Linked DNA regions of Homo sapiens: regions 1, 2, 3, 4, 6 and 7 are each linked to region 5. The links are contacts of gene promoters, found by promoter capture Hi-C in blood cells and fetal thymus (Javierre and others, 2016). All regions are on one chromosome and are shown on one strand. Each heading gives the region's core, a stretch centred on a gene start or on the middle of the fragment in contact. The rest is flanking DNA. Distances are from core to core; before and after follow the strand shown. Region 1 overlaps LOC105372666 (a long non-coding RNA gene). Region 2 overlaps LOC105372666 (a long non-coding RNA gene). Region 3 overlaps LOC105372666 (a long non-coding RNA gene). Region 4 overlaps LOC105372666 (a long non-coding RNA gene). Region 5 holds the start of CYP24A1 (cytochrome P450 family 24 subfamily A member 1). Region 6 overlaps LOC105372666 (a long non-coding RNA gene). Region 7 overlaps LOC105372666 (a long non-coding RNA gene).

Region 1 (2,700 bases), core at 90-2,589, 1.9 Mb before region 5:
CTTGACTTTAGGATGGGTGCATGAGCAGAGTGGTGAGAGAAGAGGCTGGGAGAGGCACTTTTGATGTAAGTTGACACTGAACAAATGCCTCTATGGGCATTGGCTATGGTAACAAAATTTAATATCCTCAGGCAATTCATAGAAAAATAAGTATATGAAAAATTATGCAGCCTCAGTAAAAATGAAATTGCAAACAAAATCAGGTATTAATTTTATTTCAGAGAGGTGGAAAACATGAAAAAGAAAATTCTCAGTGCTGGTAAGGATGTGGGAAAGCAGACACTCGAGGTTCCACCAATGCAAACTTTCTGCAATAAGTGCCACAGATACTTCTTGTCCATGTGCTTCGATCCAGCAATTTCACTTGTAGGAATTAACCTAGGGAAATAATTGGATAAGTACATTAAGATGTATGTGCCAAGATTCTCATTGCACTGTTGTTTATTTCAGTGAAAAACTGAAAGCACTCAACTGCCTATCAATAGGGGATTGACCAAATAAATTCTTATACCATGCAGGATGTATGTATTAATGCACAATGTAGTTAGGTATTGATATGTTTTGGCTGTCCCCACCCAAATCCCATCTTGAATTGTAGCTCCCATAATTCCCATGAGTTGTGGAAGGGACCTGGTGGGAGATAATTGAATCATGGAGGTGGTTCCCCCATACTGTTCCTGTGGTAGTGGATAAGTCTCACGAGATCTGATGGTTTTATAAGAAGTTTCCCCTTTCACATGGCTCTCATTCTCTCTTGTCTGTCACCATGGAAGATGTGCCTTTTGCCTTCTGCCATGATTGTAAGGGCTTCCCAGCCATGTGTAACAGTGAGTCTATTAAACCTCTTTTTCTTTATAAATTGCCCAGTCTTGGGTATGTCTTTATCAGTAGCATGAAGGCAGACTAATACACGTATTTAGCCCGGCCAATAGGTAAGCTAATCTTTATCACTGTGGAAATGTGTCCACAAAATATTGTCATATGAAAGTCTGTTAATAATGGATGTGTGTACATTGGGGCTTGAGTGGGGCCTAATAAAGTAATATTCTTCTTTCTTGTTTAAGTTTTGAATCAATTGAGAGAGAACCGCAAAAGTCAGAGAGATGGTGATAAAAACATCATCTTCATTACGGATAAAAGTTTTATCGGAGGATGTAGCTTACGAGAGTATCCACATGGGTTCATTATAGCCCACCCAGGCAAAAGTTACGCTTGTGGAAGATTGTTGCCTCAAAGATTGCTTGGTTCTGGGGCAGAGAAGAAAGGGAGCAAATTGCAAATAGCCTTTTAGTGTGTTAGCTTACCTAGTTGAGATATGTGGACAAATGGCTATCACCCATTGATATGGTTTGACTCTATGTCCCCACCCAAATCTCATGTCAAATTGTAATCCCCACGTGTCAGGGGAGGGGCCTGGTGGGAGGTGATTGGATCATGGGGGCTGATTTTCCCTTTGCTGGTCTCATGATAGTAACTGTGTTCTCATGAAATCTGATGGTTTAAAAATGTGTGGCACTTCCCCCTTCAGTCTCTCTCTCCTGCTCCAAAATGCTAAGATGTGCTTGCTTCCCCTTCGCCTTCTGCCATGATTGTAAGTTTCCTGAGGCTTCCTTGCCATGCTTCCTGTTAGGGATGTAGAACTGGGAGTCAAACCTCTTTTCTTCATTAATTACCCACTTTCAGTTAGTTCTTTATAGCAGTGTAAAAATGGACTAATACACCTATCAATCAATTAACTCACTCTTTTGTGGGGTGAGGACAGGAGTCTTACCATGATCGTGGTCCCTCCATAGGGAAACATGAGGACTAGAGAATAAGTGTTCCTGCCCTTAGCATTATCATGTGATTCCATTTTTGTTTGAAGACACGTATGGATGTTTGCATAAAAAGATATAAAAATAAGCCTGAGATGGATGTGTGAGAAGTAGGCTTCCCCCATGGGCTGGGACTATGAGAGGGATTTTCAATATCTCTTTAAAAGTCAAATGACTTTTAAAAATAAAGGATAATATCTCTCATGAGAAAAAAACCCAGAAATATGTTTCCATTAGAAAACTAAGTTTCTGTTCATGTTGCATGCAATTCATACTCTATGTAAATGACATTTCATTATGCAGCTGGTATTTTTTACAACCAGCTGAACACTGAAAATCAATAGATACAGGTTCCATGATGAAAATAATTACTGGGATTCTTTTTCATGCTTTCTTTGATGTCCTTTCAATGTCTGGATATAAATCAAGTTCCTCCTATGCCTTCACTCAGATTCCCTTTACAAATTCTCTTTATTTTAATTTAATTTAATTTTATTATTATTTTTTTGAGATGGAGTCTTGCTCTGTCACCCAGGCTGGAGTGCAGTGGCACCATCTCGGCTCACTGCAAGCTCCGCCTTCCAGGTTCATGCCATTCTCCTGCCTCAGCCTCTTGAGTAGCTGGGACTACAGGCACCCGCCACTGCGCCCAGCTAATTTTTTGTATTTTTAGTAGAGACAGGGTTTCACCATGTTAGCCAGGATGGTCTCGATCTCCTGACCTTGTGATCCGCCCGCCTTGGCCTCCCAAAGTGCTGGGATTACAGGCGTGAGCCACCACGCCTGGCGGTGCAAATTCTCTTTATTAAAACGACTTCTCATGTTTTCATTGTTCCTTGAGTGAGAAGTCATACTCAGTACATTCATTTGCTATGTAAACATGTGA
Region 2 (2,700 bases), core at 36-2,535, 1.9 Mb before region 5:
ATAAACTAAGATAGATAAAGTTAAGATTTGAGACAATAAACTTGCAATCCCTCTTTTTCCCCAGTAGTTGTCTGAGGTATTGTAGCATAAATAACAAATGTGTGTAATTAAAAACCAAAATTAGCTGAGCAAAAATACTATCCCTGCCCAAATTTCAGTTTTAAATTCTTATTTACAAACACTGTTTCTTGTTTTTCCTGCCTTTGATGTGAACTTTAATTTTTAAGTGTAATCTAAACCACCTTTAAAACAAATCATTTATTCGTAAGGTTTACTATGTCATAATTGCCTGGTTATTTGGATGATAGATGTGTCATATCTGAAAACTAACTAGTTATCTTTTGAAATGTATTTCAACATGCATTATCTGAAGCAGCAAAGGTGAGAACACTGCGTGGATAAATATGATAAAAAATATGATGGATTTACAAGCACAGCACTCAGGTTTAGCATTTAGTCATTTTTATTATGTTGTTGGGTCAAAAGTGTAAAAGAAGACCAGCAGAGGAACTGTTAAGGCTCCTTGGAGTTTTTGCCTGCCCTCCTGCCTGGGGATGGAGGTAGTTCTAGCCTAGAAACTCTTGAATGCTTTACAAATAATAGAAGCCAAGTGGGAAAAGCATGTTCTATATTTTAATGCTGACATCCTCATAGAAAAAAAAAAGTAAAGATTCAGAATACTTGGCTGTGATTCAGTACCTAAACACTTCCTGGTGTTTCTCAGAATCCCCCGGAGACTCATAAATGCTGCTGTGTTGGAGGTACCCATTGCTGCTGCACACTTAGGCCAGTTTGTCAAACTAACGAGCTCAAGAGCGATGCTATTTCTAGGTTCAACCCCATGGGGGAGGAACAGAGAGAAAACAAAACCAAAATTCAGACAGAAGAGTAATCCTAAAGGCCAGTTGACAAAAAATTTATTAACACATATATACCAAATCTCACCCAGAGTAGTATCCTTTGTGGAGATTTTACCCTACAAATCTTTTGCTAGCTCCTTGAGTCCAAGCATTACAGATAAGGTGGTATGGTTTTTACACTGGGTGATGTTTATTGATCTGGACTTAAAAAACAGCACTGTCTGGCTTTTTTTCACTGACACAATATTTGCAAATAACTATGGAATGGAGAGGACGTGTTTTCCTCTTGTTAGGGCCTATTGTTTTTTAAGAAAATTAACAAAAGGGAGAGAGAAGCTTTAACACTCATTGAGAGGGACTTTTTATTCTGGGATTTGATAACTAAGATTCGGGGAAGATAGTGAGTTTTGGTGTAATTTGTGTCATCAAAACAACCCCTGTATTAGAGCAGGAGATACAGTATCAATAGATAATGAGAAAAGACAATGGAAATTATACAAATGTATGTTTCTTAAAAGCTTTTGCTACCTATTATTTTCTAGCCTATAGGCAAAATTTAGAGACATATAATGGATATGCTTATATTGATAGTAACATATCATGTAATTTAAAAGGCTAAGTCCACCTTACAGGTTTGCCTCATGCCATGATGAATCATTTTGAAATGTGATTGGTCTTCTAAGGGATTGTTCAAAGATTGTCAGTCAATCATTGACAAAATAACTCTGTGAGGTGACTTACTACAGTTTGGTTTTGATGTTTACAACATAACCAAATGTGAACTTTGGAGCTTGTAAAGTTGTTCTTTCAGCATTATAAATTTGGCAGCTTCCTCTTCCTGCCTCCCTTCTCCTCCTCCTTCTCTTTTTCTTCTTCTCCTTATCTTCCCTTCCTGCTTCAACAAATTCACAGAAATAGGAGGCCTGCTGTATTAATTTTATTGTTTGCTTACTTTCAAATCTTTTCTTTCAGGCATATTTCAATATATAATTGATATGAAGTGTGACAATTTTTAATTTGTCTTGACTTTTTAAATTTTATGATAGAAAATGGAAACCAACATATATAAATAATCTACTAATATTTCTTAACCTTTATATATATGCTCAAGAGAAGACTTTTTTCTTCCCCCTGGAATGAATTTTTTTTTTTTTAAAGAAAGTCAAGTATTATGTATACACAGCTTTTGAATTCTTGGATATATTTTTGAAACTTTAAAACATTATTATTTATATTAATCTTTGAAGTATTTCCTCTTGAGGAACTACCTATACTTCTTGCATAGTGACCTAGTTTCAATAGTAACATTTTATAGAAGCTGATGGTAAAATTTATGTCTTCGGACCATAATTAATTATGTTTTGAACTTAAACAGGAACATCTCCTTTCTTAACTAAACGGCCGTGTCTTACATTTACATGATTTGCTATTTGTACCTTAAAGAGGTGTAATAGTTTTATTATGTTCTTATGTCATCAGTAATTTCATATGTGAGTCATGAATCCCATAGATTTAGTGGTGCTCAAATACACTTATTGATTGATTGATTTGCTATACAATTGGCTCTCTGTATTTATGAGTTCTGTATCTAGGGATTCAACCAACTTTGGTTTGAAAATATTAGGGGAAAAAAGAAAATATACAACCATAAAAATACATATTTAAAAAATTCAGTGTAACAACTATTTACTTAGTATTTACATTATATTAGGTATTACAAGTGATCTAGAGATGATTTAGAATTACAGGAGGATGTGCATAGGTTATATACAAATACTATGCCATTTCATTTAAGTGACTTGAGCATTTGTGGATTTTTTGGGGCATTTCTTGAACCAAT
Region 3 (2,700 bases), core at 153-2,652, 1.9 Mb before region 5:
TTACTTTTAAATTGTAAGTGTTACCTTTGTTCTTTTAATTTTGTCATCTGCCCTTGTTCTTTTGTTCTTTGTTTTCAGTATTCTGACTTATTGCATCTCTATGATTATCTTTATGTCAGAGGCATTTAAACCAGAGCGTCTTCATTTTGAATCGGGGCTGGGTAAAATAATACTGAGCCCTACTGGGCTGCATTCCCTGAAGGTTAGACATTCTAAGTCACAGGATAAGATAGGAGGTTGGCACAAGATACAGGTCATAAAGACCTTGCTGATAAAACAGTTTACAGCAAAGAAGCTGGCCAAAACCCACCAAAACCAAGATGGCGATGAGAATGACCTCTGGTCCTCGTCACTGCTACACTCCCACCAGCGCCACGATAGTTTACAAATGCCATGCCAACATCAGGAAGTTACCCTGTATGGTCTAAAAAGGGGAGGCATGAATAATCCACCCCTTGTTTAGCATATCATCAAGAAATAACCATAAAACTGGGCAACCAGCAGCCCTCAGGGCTGCTTTGCCAATGGCATAGCCATATCTTTATTCCTTGACTTTCTTAATAAACTTGCTTTCACTTTACTGTATGGATTCACCTTGAATTCTTTCTTGCATGAGATCCAAGAACCCTCTCTTGGGGTCTGGATAGGGACCCCTTTCCAGTAACATTTATGCCTTGGACAATTTTGAGGTACATATGAAATATCTGGATAGAAAGTGCAAGTTTTCTGCTAATATAACCCTTCTTTCTTAGTAATTGGACCCACAAAGGTTATCCAGGCACATGAGAATAACATGACAAACCCCAGCATTTTTTGTGTGTCTGGGTGTGACTATGTGCCTAATTTCTGGCCAGAGTGGTTTAAGTGGAAGTGTTCTTTGCAACTGTTTGGGGGCCTCTTTGTGTAGAGAGGCCACTTGCTACTCCCTGGCTGGAATGTGGTTGGGTGGTTGGCTGTAGAACGCCTCACTGGGACCTGATGTGGAGGCCACATGTTGGCCTTGGTAGACTTGATAACTAGAGACACAGTGAGTAACACGGGCTTCTCAGAACATGCTGGGAGATAAACACCAACAGCACCCAAGACCAGAAAATGCCACCAGATGCTACTAGAGAGCAAAGTATAGTGACAGGCCAGACTCTGCTTTCTAACATGATTATTTTCCAAAATGTCTTGGTCCTTGGACGCTTACCAAAAAAGAAGGAAGGAGTTTGTGACTGTGTGTATGTGTGTGTGTGCAGAATCCTAAATTGGTTGTGTGTTTAACTCAGAATGATGGCACTTACCTGGAAGTGACTAAATTTTCTGCCATTAGGTAGATGGAGGGCTTGACATAAAAACAGTTTAAGTGGAGTTACAGAAGAATTTTAAAAGATTTTATTTCTTGCACACTCAAGTTTGTCTTCTGTGACAATCATAGCCACGATGGGAGTCTGGGCTTAAGAAGGCAGCTGGGAATTGGGGCTGAGGTTTAAGCACGGCAGGAACACTGTCAGATTTGTGCTTCCTTCCGAAGTCTGTTTTTCAGGGAGGTTGTGGCCACGTGATGGTCACGGTTGCTTTCATCCTCTCCTGGAGACTCTCAGCTGTCCTACATATGTCACTGCATTTTTGCAGAGTCAGATGGTCTTTTCTGAATTATTTTCTATTGTCATCATTTGTGATCTCTGCTATAGCCCTGTCTTTATATATTTGCTTCAAAATAGGCCCCCAGTCCATTTTTGGAGAGAGTACTTAGATTTGTTCAGTCAAATTTCAGAACTGCAAGTGGCTCAGTCAGTCCAATGACAAAGAACGCCCCCCCGCCACCCACTGCCAAAATGGAACATGAGTTTTGCTTCAGAAATGAATACATAAAATATGTTACCTTTTCATCCATCTTCTCTCAATTTTATTTGTTGCTAAAGTGATATTATACAGATATTGAAAGACTTTTTAAAATAAGAAAAAAAAACCCATAACAATGATCTCATTTAAAATTTTTGGTTGAAAGTGACAAAAACTGAATTGGAACAAGCTCAGATGGAGAAAAAACACACGAGCTTGAGTCACAGAAAAATCCAGGAACAGAATTACTTTTAGATATCACTTCATCTGAGACTCAAACAATGCTCAAGTAGAATAATCATTTCTTCATTTCTTAGATCTGTTTCCCAATGTGTGGGCATCATTCTTCAGCAGGACCAATGCCTGGGGGTGCAAAATGGCCATGAGAAACTTTTAGCCTCCTATGCTTTGATTTCAGTAAACTCAGCAGCCTGAGGTTCTCTCTCTCTTAATATTAAAATCAAAGCAAAACAAGGAAGTGAGTTTCATATTGGTCTGCTTGTGCTCATGCTCCTGTCTGAACAGATTACCATGGCCAAGACAGTGGAATGACCAGGGTGGTGGGGGCAGGGGGCGGTCAGGTCTCGGGTATGTGCCCTACTTTGGATCTAAGGGTGGGTTAATTTCTTGGACTCAGTGAGTTAAAGATGATGGACAAGTAGTTCTCTACTCCCTCCTACCCAATCAGGGTGGCATTCCCAGAAGAATAAATCAATAGACAAAAATAGCAGAGAGCCACCCAACTGATAATCCCAATCCCCAAAGAGATGAGAGCTTCCATTCTTCTGTTCCCATTCGTCCATGTTCATAAAGATCACACCCGTATATGCTTATAATTATAATATAGAATAGATCAGAGAACAGCAAACTACA
Region 4 (2,700 bases), core at 189-2,688, 1.9 Mb before region 5:
CCACCCAGTCCTCAGCAGATGGGAAAACATTGAAACCTCAATCGCTTAACACTCATACATCCACTTTCTGTCTTTCAAAATTTGGCTGACATTTCTCTCCTGTCATTATTCTCCCACTCTCTTTGTCCTTGTGAATTTATACCTCTTTAGTTCCTTTACTGTCATTTCAGTGGGGTTTGGAGAAGGAGAGAAGATGAACGGGTGAATTCAAGCCACCATTTTTAACCGGAAGTCCTTTAATATCCTTCCTATTCATTTTTAATGTGTCCATCCGTTCCCCGTCTCTCTTCACTGCTGTATCATACTGCTCGGACATCTTGATTGAGCTGTTCTTGATGACTTTCTTTGAGTCTTTTCCTGTTGAGTATTTCACAAGGTCAGAATTCACGAGTGCTAAGGTCAACCCCCAAATGTGCAATAACACTGGCTTTAGGAGAGCATCTTTTCCTGGTTAACTGCTACCTGTCATCCTCACTCCATTTCTTTCCTTTCTTGTGGGAGCTGACAGAAGTGGAAAATGGGGCAAGATAGGAGGAACTGTATTCTAGATTAAAAAAATTGCAAATGAAAGCCACATTATAGCTTTGTATTTTGTGGTTTTATTATATTTTGCAAGCCTTTCAATTTTTTTTACATAAAGCCTTTTGAAAAATCTCATAGTAAAATTTCCAACTGTGCAGAGGATCAGCATAATCCTCCCCAGTCTCTCTCTCCTTTAATCTTGTGCTTTTTCTCCTATGAATTTGGTGTGCATCTTTCCATATCTTTTAAATTATGCTTGCACTAGTGTACAATCATTTATTTATTCAACAAATGGCTTTTGAGTCCCTATAATGTGCTAGGCATTGATGTAGGGACTGGCAATATGTTGGTGAACAAGACAGGCTAAATCCCTTCCCTCATGGGGATTTACATTCTAGTGGATATATAAAACTTTAAACATTCAACACATGCACACTGCCTACCCACCAGCATCACTGGCCATATCATACACAGTGATCTGTAAGATACTTTTTTTCCCACTTACCACCTAGTGTATCTTTTCATGTTAGTACTATGGATCTTTATTTTTAATGGTTGTGCCATTTCACCATATGAATGCATCATTTATCTACTCTTCTAGTAATGATCATTTAGATTGTTTCCAGTGTTCTGCTGTTACAAACAATGGATCAAGCATGATTTGTTCAAATATTCTCCCATTGATAGACCTTGAAGTGTTTTCAGTTTTTTTTTATACAAACAACTTTGTAAAATCAATTTTGAACATTTAGTTTTGTACTCATATGCAAGAATATCTATAGTGTATATATTCCTATAAATAGAATATTGGAGTCAAATGGGCTGATGTTATACAGTATGAAAGCTATTGTCAAATCGTCCTCCAAAAAGTGTGAATTCATTTGTACTCCCACCAGATAGGAAGAAAAGTGCCTGGTTCTGAAAAAGGTGTTTTAGACATGTGCTGTGAACTTTTTCATTTTACCGTGTTGCATTTTCCACCATTTCCCTAGTTAATTTAAATTTGTCTGTTGCAAAACTGTGTGCTTCTAGACACTGCCTGATTTACGCCACCTGAGACTTGTTATCAGACTCCAATGGAAGTAACCAGTCTCTCAAAGAAATGTGAACATTAAAAGCTAATCATTTTTCCCTTTCCAGATCTTGAGTAAACAAGCAAAAAAAAAAAAAAAAAAAAGAAAATCTTGGTTACAGGCCTGTCTTTGTGGCAGTCATTTAACAAAACAAAAATATCTAAGAAAATCCCCAAACTAGGTGTGGTGGCTCACTCCTGTAGTCCCAGCACTTTGGAAGGTTGAGGTGAGAGGGTCGCTTGAGGCCAGGAGTTTGAGACCAGCCTGGGCAACATAGTGAGAGACCCCATTTCTAAAAAATAAAAGCAAAAACCCAGCCAGGCATGGTGGTGTGTGCCTGTAGTTCTAGCCACTCAGAAGGCTGAGGCAGGAGGATCCTTGAGCCCAGGAGTTTGAGTCTGCAGCAAGCTATGATTGTGCCAGCCTAGGTGAAAGAGCAAAGCCCTGTTCTCCAAAAAGAAAATTCCCTAACAAAATGTCTATAGTCTATATATTGCCTAAATCACTTTTAATCTGTAACAAAATATTATCCTTCAGTCTCTGTTTAGAAAAGCTCAGCAAATTCTGTAAATAAGATAGTCTCTGTTCAATATGTCAATAAGCCTTTTCTTTCTTTCTTTCCTTCCTTCCTTCCTTCCTTCCTTCCTTCCTTCTTTCTTTCTTTTTTTTTTTTTGAGACAGAGTCTCACTCTGTTGCCCAGGCTGGAGAGCAGTGGCATGATCTCGGCTCACTGCAACCTTCACCTCCTGGGTTCAAGCACTTCTCTGTGTCAGCCTTCTGAGCAGGTGGGATTACAGGCGCCCACCACCACGCCTGGCTAATTTTTGTATTTTTAGTAGAGACAGGGTTTCACCATCTTGGCCAGGGTAGTCTTGAACTCCTGACCTCGTGATCTACCCACCTCGGCTTCCTAAAGTGCTGGGATTACAGGCGTGAGCCGCTGCGCCTGGCCCAGTAAGCCTTTTCAAAGAATTCTGTGCAGGTTACAGCATAATTTAATTACAAATGAATATGCATTCTTAGATATAAAAATGAGAGATGTCTGAGTATGATAACTAAGATAGACAGTGTTAGAACATCATGATTTGAAGGATCGTCACTCAC
Region 5 (2,700 bases), core at 154-2,653:
GACTTCAGAACCTCATCCTGCCCAAGAGTCTGAACACCACAGTTGGTACAACCCTGTTTTGGCGTTTCTTTGATGGGAGGGTGTGGCCCTGCCCTGTTGCCAGAGAGAACGCAGGTGCTGGGTGCACAGCACGGCTTTTCCGTGGACCGACTCTAATCTGTACAAGAGCTCAGGGTTGCGATGGCACGGGAGAGGGGCTTTGGTATCCGCCCTACGTAAGAAGCTTCCAACCCCAGGGAACTCTAACTCCGCCTCTTCACAATTTCCAGGCGCCGTCAGGCTCATCAGGTCTGGCCGCATGCCCAGGTCCCTCGGATTGGACTCACAGGATCAGCAGCCCGTAGCCTTCTTTGCGGTAGTCGCGATAGGCCTTCCACGGTTTGATCTCCAGCCGCTGCGGGTACGCGCTCTCGGTGCGGTACAGCGCTTCCAGCAGGCATGGCGAGCCCAGGTGCACCGACTCAAAGGAACCCAACTTCATGCGGAAAATCTTGCCATACTTCTTGTGGTACTCCACCTGCAGCCGGCCGGGCACAGCGCGGTGTCAGCGCGCATCCTCCGCCGTGCCCGAAGCGCTTTCCCTCCTCCCGCCTCCTTCCTCCTAGGGGACCGGGGACCCTCCCTGCCCAGACGCCGAAGCGCACCATGCGCCCGAGGCGCGCATGTCGGGGAGGGTTTGGAGCGCCACTGGGAGGGCGGAAGAGGGAGGAGAGAGTCAGGGGCGCGAAAAGGGGTTTACCAGGGTGTCGTGCTGTTTCTTGAGACCCCCTTTCCAGAGAATCTGCAGCAGGCTGCCCAGCAGTGGCCAGCTGGTGGGGCCCGGCAGGGCGGCCGCGTTCTGAGTCTCGCCACCAGCTGTCAGCGGGCAGACTGGCACCTCTCGCGGCTGAGGGGACGTGTACGCCGTAGATGTCACCAGTCTCGGGGGCTGCCTCGGACTGCGCAGCTGCTGCAGGAAGGCGGCAAGCGAGCGGCTCTTGCTGATGGGGGAGCTCATGGCAGCGGGGGACACCGGAGCGCGGGAAGGCAGGAGGATGGGGTGGGGCGAGGTTGGTACGAGGTGCTAGTGGGAGTCGGGGCTTAACGATTCTGGGAAAAGGAAGCAAAGAGGGCCAGCTGGTGTGATGGAGCGGGGTGAGGCGGGACAGGCAGCAGAAAGGACCTCGGCGAGGATGCTCGACGCTGCACCACGCGACAGCCTCAGAGCATTGGTGCCTCCTTGCACTGGCCGCAGGGGCTGGAAGAGGGTGGCCGGTGTCTGGGGACCTCTTGAAAAGGGAAAGCTGGGAGTCCTCCTGTTGGTCCGCAAGGCTGACCTCTAGGGTCTGGCTGGAGCCACGGGGAGGTGTCAAGGAGGGTAGATGAGATGCTGCTGGCGCTGCGTTTCCTCCTGTCCCTCTCCATGTTCCTATGCCCAGGGACCATGCATTTATGGAGACAGAGCATGCCCTGGGTGGCCAATGAGCACGCAGAGGAGGGCGGAGTGGCCCCCGGCTGGCCAGACTCCGAGGGACGCGGGACCCAGGGGAGGGGGGGTGGAAGGAGGATGGAGTCAGCGAGGTGAGCGAGGGCGTCCGGGCCTGGGGTGACCGGGGCTATGTTCGCTGGGCGCGGGAGGTGGGGTGGGGGCGGCAGACTCCACCCCGGAGATAACCCCCAGGAAGTCATGCGAAGCCCGGAGTTCACCGGGTGTGCTTCGAACGCGCCTCCCCGCCCTCCCCCGGCGGGCAGGAGCCGGCAGCGGCGGCCGTGGTTGCCGCCCGGCGCTTGCACAATCGCGATGCCGGGCGGGCGAGGTCCCCGAGTGCGGGCCCAGAAAAGCTGCCGGCGTCTGCCAGGGCCCCGGGGAGCCCGGGCGCCTCCCGGGGAGCCAGATACCCCCAGCCTGGACTGAAGTGATTTTTTTTTTTTTTTTGCCTTTTTTTTTTTGGAGGAAGTTTGGCTTTCTGCGCCTCCCAGGGTGGGGAGGATTTGAGTCTTACTGAAATGCACCAGAAGAGGAGACTTTCTTAACTTGAGCAAGAAGGGGAGTTTGTAGAATTTCCTTCCTGCTGTTTCATGTTTGGTTGTTTTGCAGATTAAATGAATTAATGCACGTAAAGCGGCAACAACGAAGCCTTGTCTATAGTCAACAGTCAATAAAAGTTAGTTGCTGTTGTTACTTCTTTAGGAAGTTAGGAAATGCGCCTTGAGAGCGTGGCTTGCACCAACGATGCTTGAATTCAGGCTGGGCCACCTCCCCTATGTCCACTGCCCGCCTCTGTTCTTCTACACCGACTACCTTGTGCAAAGGAGGGGCACACAGAGCTTGAAACCACCGCCCCCAGTACTCCCCCTCTCCCCCAAGGTGCGTCCTAGGCAGGTCCAGTGACAAACATACACAATTTCTAGAGTTACCGCGGCTGGCAAGAGTAGAACTCGCTTTGCTAATTCAGGAACGGAAGTTGGAGATTTTTGTTGATTGTTTTAAAGTGGCTCGAATCCTTTCAACCTGATCCAATACAAAACTACCACCAGCCAGGGAGGAGGGGAGGGACATTCTGTTTCCTCGCCCTGCTTTTCAATTACGTGTCTCAGTCATTTTTGCCCCAAGTGTTGGCAAATCCTTCCCTGGTAAATTCTTTTGTAAGCCTCTAGTTTGTTTCTTAAAAATCTTTTGCAGTCCAACTTAAGCTTTAACACCATCATTTCTGATTTGTC
Region 6 (2,700 bases), core at 131-2,630, 1.9 Mb before region 5:
TCCAAATCTTTTTGTCTCATAGTCCTGTGGCTTCTCTGAGACTTTGGTTCGGTTTGGGAGAAAACGTTCCTTGGAATGCCAGTAAGAGAACTGCAGGTGAGTAAACTGAACTGAAGTAATGCAGAATAATAGTTCAAGATCGATTCCTGCCACAGACCTTGAGTAAAGGGCTATGGAAGGTTTTTCTAAGAGGGGTTATTTTACCTGGTACTGAAGCATTAGTCTGTCTCTGAGGCAAAGTAAAGAAAAAGGATGTTCTTCATGGAAGAAATAGGGCACCTAAAAGAAAGTGTCTGCAGGTACCCAGTGGCTGCAGCTTTAGCAGGCATGGTTGGGAGGGTCTGTAATGGAGAAGGGCTTGGCCTTTGTCCAGCATCCAAGGGGAGCCTTTGGAAGGTTTTAGACGGAGAAGTGGTATGTTCTAGAAAGGTGTAGCATGGTGGCGTATGCCTGTAATCCCAGCTACTTGGGAAGCTGAGGCACGAGAATCACTTGAACCCAGGAGGCGGAGGTTGCAGTGAGCGAGATTGTGCCACTCCACTCCAGCCTGGACGACAGAGCGAGACCCTGTCTCAAAATACAAAAACAACCTTCTCAAAAACAAAAACAAACCTACACCTGGGGGAAAAACTAACAAAAGATGTGTAAGATATCCACAGAGAAAAATTACAATGCATTAGTGAAGGAAATAAAATAAGCTCTTTAAAAATATAGAGCTCTGCCTAATTCCAACACTTGTGTTATAAGTTGGTCTGATTTTCCTGTCTACTTTTTCTCACGATTACTTTTCTGCTAGATATGGGAAGGAGAAGAAAGAGTTAAATAACACGCATTTAAATGTCCTCATCCCCCTCCCCTCCAAGCCAGTCACTGGAGAAGTTGAATAAAGAAAAACAAAACCAAACCATTTGGGCTAAAGAAATAATTGGGAGAAAAGAAAGTTGCCAAAAAGCATTGTATATGTGCACATTTATTTGTAATAAGTGAATGGACGAATGATTTAATAGTACATATGGTGGTCTTAGTATATGCATGGAAAAACTGGAGGAATATACGGCAAATTGTTAATATTGGTGTTTGGTGTGTTTTCAAGTATTATATCTGCAATATTTACTATTTTTTAAAAACAGTGAGCGTGTATTACTTTGGAATCAGAAAAATCCCAATAAATATATACACCTGTAAAGATGTCACACTTAACATAACATCCAAAGTCCTTATCAGGGCTTACAGGGCCCTGCACGACCCAGCCCCTCTCTCTGCCTAACCTTGTTTCCTTCATGCTCCCTCTTGTTCATGGTGGTCTCTTTGCTCCTCCTTGATCACACCAAGCACGTTTCCAGTTCACAATGTGTGCATTTGACGTTCTCTCTGCCAGGTGCACTGTTCCCAGGTATCTGCATGGGTCCCTTCTCCACATCAATTAGGTTTGCTCAAATGTCATAATTTCAGAAAGAACTTCTGAAAATTCCCATCTCCTGAACTTACTTTATGTTTCTCTATAGCACTTACCCACTACATTATATCATGTCTACTTATTGTCTGCCTATCTATCTATCTATCTATCTATCTATCTATCTATCTATCTGTCTATCATCTGTCTATCCATTGATGTCACCCCTGGAAGACTTTGCCTAGAATAGTCTCTGACATACAATGGAAACTCAGTAAATATGTGTTGAATATATATTATTTGCTTTTAAACAGCGAATACCTGTTTTTACTTTTATTTAGTGAAGATTGAGTTGTAGAAAATGTTTGAAAACCTGCAGCCCCAACTTATAGAGCTTAAAGGCTTTCAGTTACTTTTTAAAAAACACCTTTCCTCATCTAGGACAGAGTTTTTCCACCTCAGAACTATGGACACTTTGGGATGGAGAATTCTTTGGTTTGAAAGCTGTTCTGGGCATGGTAGGGTGTTTAACAACCAATTCAATGCTGGTAACATCCTCTCCCACCCACCTCATTAGTTATGACAATCAAAAATATCTTCAGACATTGCCTAATGTCCACTGGGAGCCCAAATCCCCTTCTCTTCCCCATTGAGAACCACTGCTATAGGAGCGTTCTAGAGTCAAATACCTCTCCATTTTTCTAAAAATATGTACAGCATCATATTGACGGAGACAGGCTAAGGTTTGATCTACTGCTATGCTATTAGGAGGGAATGAGCTGAAAATTGTCATGGGTTCTTATACTTTCATGAGAGTTACTCAGGTCTCAGCACCTCTCTACATTTTGGTTTTCTTGTTTAGTATAAATGCAATCCAATTTAATCTGCATATAAACACATCTATTGCATATTAAAATCAACATATTATAAACATCAGGCTGAATGCTTTCCTGAAGAAGCAGGCTAAAAAAATTCATGCATATTAATATTACAAATAAGCCAATTATTATATGGAATAATAAATAAAAAACAATATGATTAAAACTGGGAGCTTCATAAAGCAAAATATATGATATGAAGATTAGACTGCCTTAGAAACAATATTACAAATCCTTGCATTTTACATGTAATTTGTTTAAAATTAATTTCCCAGTGTGGTATCTTATTTTTGTTTCACCTAGACCTACACTAATAAGTTTTAGGAAACATTGATATTACTTAAAATCACAACACAGAGAAGAAACCATTTCTCTGCTCTTAATTGAGGCAAACCACACTGCTTAGCTTCACAGTTTCCAAGGCCCTGA
Region 7 (2,700 bases), core at 66-2,565, 2.0 Mb before region 5:
CCTTTAATCCCAGCTACTCAGGAGGCTGAGGTGAGTGGATCGCTTGAGCCTGGGAGGAGGAGGTGGCAGTGAGCCGAGATTACACCGTTGCACTCCAGCCTGGACAACTGAGTGAAACTTGGTCTCAAAAAAAAAAAAAAAAAAAAAAAAAGAAATTCGAAGGTATTACCCTGTTGTCCTTGAGTTTCTCATGTTGCTGGTGATATAACTCTGATGCTATTCTGATTGTTACATCTCTCAATGGAAACTTCATTATTTTCACCAGCTTATAGCTACTTTCCTTGCTCCTTAGTAATCTAAAACTTGATGATAGTATTTATTGGTTGGATCTATTTCCACATATTGCATGTGATACTCACGCCTACCATCTAATAAATCCTGTTCTCTGCGGGTTCTGGGACAATTTATTAACATTTTTTCTGCCCTTCTGGTTTTTTTGTTCTCTGTCTGGAACTCCTGGTGTTTGGAATAGGAACTCTTGCACTAGTCCTGTCATTTTTAAATTTATCTTTTCTCCCCGTTTTGCATGTCTTGGTCTTTCTGCTCAACTTTCTGGAATATTTCCTTAACTTTATTTTTCAAGCTTTCTATTAAATTTTTCATTTCTGCTGTCATATTTTTAATTTCTCAGAACCTTTTCTACCATTTGAATGAAAACAAATTGGCATCTTATTCTTATTTCGTGAGTGTGGTATTTTCTCTTACCTCTCTGAGGATGTTAATGTTTTGAGGGAGGAACCTTTTTCCTTCTCCCAGTTTTGGTTTCACCCATGTGGCCTGTCTTTTTTCTGTTTGGTTGTTTTGGCCTTTGGCTCTCAGGTTTGCTCGAAGGTCTTGTGCTCCTTGGCTGTCTGATCTTATTTATTTAGTTATTATTTTTTGAGATGTAGTCTCACTGTTGCCCAGGCTGGAGTGCAGTGGTGCCATCTCAGCTCACTGCAACGTCTGCCTCCCGGGTTTCAGGGAGGTTCCTGCCTCAGCCTCCCGAGTAGATGGAATTACAGGCACCCACCATGCCTGACTAATGTTTGCATTTTTAGTAGAGACGGGTTTCACTGTGTTGGCCAGGCTGGTCTCGAACTCCTGACCTCAGGTGGTCTGCCCACCTCGGCCTCCCAGAGTGCTAGGAGTCTGATCTTATTTTAGAAGGAGGTGCTGAAGAGCTGATTGATAATTCTGAGAACGCAGGGTAGGGGTGGGTGGCTTGTCAAGCTTAAGTATCAGTGCAGGGTGACCTGGCTGGGGTGTGTCCTACCTGCTCCAAAATATCAGTGTATTTCGTTTTCCTTTTTCTGCACTGGGTGCATTTCTCAGAGCAGACCGGATCACTCTCCTGCCTAGAGGATACAATCCCTCCTGCCAGTGCTTTTGGGACATGCTAGGGAAGGAAGGTTGCAGAGGTCTCAGCAATCCGTATATAAGCTTCCCCCCGTACCCCCTGCTTAGTCCCTGTACCTGAAGCTCCCTGTCCAGAGACTCTCTCTTTTATCCTCTCAAAAGAATAAAGTGCAGTCATCTGAACAGGACAGAGGCTGTCAGATGCCCGTGGCATGGGAGAGGAAACCTGGGATCTAACTCTTTCTTTGATTTTCAAACACTCTTTCTATTTTTTGCCCCACTTATGCCTCCAACCTGCAGAGATATCTGGTGCTACTCATTCCTGAATGTTTCAAGGCCCTGCAGGACACTTGGGTTCTTTCTCTTTTTCTTTTTTTTTTTTTGTTTTTCTTTTGCCTTTTTCCCACTGACAGCTTGGGATTCAGTTTTCCTGAGTCTGCTAATCCAGTTATCACTTGTTCATCTACTTTCCAGTGTTAAAAGCTAGTTTTTTAAAAAAAGGTAAAATTGTAACTCTCAGGAAAAAAAATGAACACACATGAAAGATTTTATTGAACTCATGAATGAGGAAGCTGGTGAGGTGTTAGAACCAGCTCAAAGGAGAACGCAAAGAGCAGATCAGAAATTTGAAATTCACTGATCAGAAATTTGAAATGAATTTGCAAACAGAGGAGTATCAGTTTCCTACTGCTGCTGTTACAAATTGCTTCAAATTTAGTGGCTTAAAATACTAAGTGGCTGTGAACCCCAAATATCTGAGACAAGTCTCAGTCAAATTAGAAAGTTTATTTTTTGAAGGTTAAGGACACACCTGTGACACAGCTTCAGGAGGTCCTGACGTCATGCACCCAAGGGGGTTGGGGTACAGCTTGCTTTTGTACATTTTAGCGAGATGTGAAACATCAATCAATATGTGAAAGATTACATTGGTTCTGTCTGGTAAGGTGGGTCAGCTAGAGGTGGGGGCTTCCAGGTCATAAGTAGAAAAGAGACAAAAGGTTGCATTCTTTTGAGTCCTTGATCAGCCTTCCACTAAATACACAATTTAGTCTGGCTCATTAAATCTGCATTTTTACACAAACATAAGGCAGAAGAAGCAATCATATATGCATTTGTCTCTGGTGAGCCTGAGAGGGATGACTGAGTTCTGTCTGTCCTTTGTCCACAAGGAATTTCCTTGTGGGCAAATTGTGAGGGAGGTATATAGCTTTTTATCTTTGTAACTATCCTATTTAGGAATAAAATGGGAGGCAGGTTTGCCTGACATAATTCCCAGCTTGACTTTTCCCTTGTCTTAGTGATTTTGGAGTCCCAAGATTTATTTTCCATTGCTTCTCAGCCTTTTGGCTAAGATCGAGATTT

What was found. Contacts are between HindIII fragments. The CHiCAGO score rates a contact against its expected background, and 5 or more counts as called.
Region 1: a fragment that was not itself captured here is called in contact with the fragment with the promoter of CYP24A1 in region 5 in 2 of 17 cell types (naive B cells and naive CD8 T cells); the score reaches 6.7 in naive B cells.
Region 2: a contact is called between a fragment that was not itself captured here and the fragment with the promoter of CYP24A1 in region 5, in 6 of 17 cell types (activated CD4 T cells, non-activated CD4 T cells, naive CD4 T cells and 3 more). The highest score is 9.2, in activated CD4 T cells.
Region 3: a fragment that was not itself captured here is called in contact with the fragment with the promoter of CYP24A1 in region 5 in 2 of 17 cell types (naive B cells and total B cells); the score reaches 6.6 in naive B cells.
Region 4: a contact is called between a fragment that was not itself captured here and the fragment with the promoter of CYP24A1 in region 5, in 4 of 17 cell types (total CD4 T cells, total B cells, naive CD8 T cells and 1 more). The highest score is 8.9, in total CD4 T cells.
Region 6: a fragment that was not itself captured here is called in contact with the fragment with the promoter of CYP24A1 in region 5 in 1 of 17 cell types (total B cells); the score reaches 7.4 in total B cells.
Region 7: a contact is called between a fragment that was not itself captured here and the fragment with the promoter of CYP24A1 in region 5, in 5 of 17 cell types (total CD4 T cells, activated CD4 T cells, naive CD4 T cells and 2 more). The highest score is 8.3, in total CD4 T cells.

The regions. Positions count from the first base shown.
Region 1 is chr20:52,248,025-52,250,724 of GRCh38, forward strand. The region is part of intron 2 of LOC105372666 (a long non-coding RNA gene); the gene reads left to right. Among named protein-coding and RNA genes, the nearest start is that of ZFP64, 58 kb to the left of the region's middle. The HindIII fragment of the contact is 3,826 bases long and covers 1-2,700 here.
Region 2 is chr20:52,229,879-52,232,578 of GRCh38, forward strand. All of the region lies in intron 1 of LOC105372666 (a long non-coding RNA gene), which reads left to right. Among named protein-coding and RNA genes, the nearest start is that of ZFP64, 39 kb to the left of the region's middle. The HindIII fragment of the contact is 182 bases long and covers 1,195-1,376 here.
Region 3 is chr20:52,301,947-52,304,646 of GRCh38, forward strand. The region is part of intron 2 of LOC105372666 (a long non-coding RNA gene); the gene reads left to right. Among named protein-coding and RNA genes, the nearest start is that of ZFP64, 110 kb to the left of the region's middle. The HindIII fragment of the contact is 3,487 bases long and covers 1-2,700 here.
Region 4 is chr20:52,265,539-52,268,238 of GRCh38, forward strand. The region is part of intron 2 of LOC105372666 (a long non-coding RNA gene); the gene reads left to right. Among named protein-coding and RNA genes, the nearest start is that of ZFP64, 75 kb to the left of the region's middle. The HindIII fragment of the contact is 6,103 bases long and covers 1-2,700 here.
Region 5 is chr20:54,172,583-54,175,282 of GRCh38, forward strand. CYP24A1 (cytochrome P450 family 24 subfamily A member 1) reads right to left here and starts at 1,404. Exons shown (of 12, transcript NM_000782.5): 1 at 740-1,404; 2 at 327-517. The coding sequence starts at 997. RefSeq lists an enhancer at 1,034-1,627. The HindIII fragment of the contact is 2,450 bases long and covers 222-2,671 here.
Region 6 is chr20:52,285,075-52,287,774 of GRCh38, forward strand. The region is part of intron 2 of LOC105372666 (a long non-coding RNA gene); the gene reads left to right. Among named protein-coding and RNA genes, the nearest start is that of ZFP64, 95 kb to the left of the region's middle. The HindIII fragment of the contact is 3,656 bases long and covers 1-2,700 here.
Region 7 is chr20:52,210,972-52,213,671 of GRCh38, forward strand. All of the region lies in intron 1 of LOC105372666 (a long non-coding RNA gene), which reads left to right. Among named protein-coding and RNA genes, the nearest start is that of ZFP64, 21 kb to the left of the region's middle. The HindIII fragment of the contact is 210 bases long and covers 1,211-1,420 here.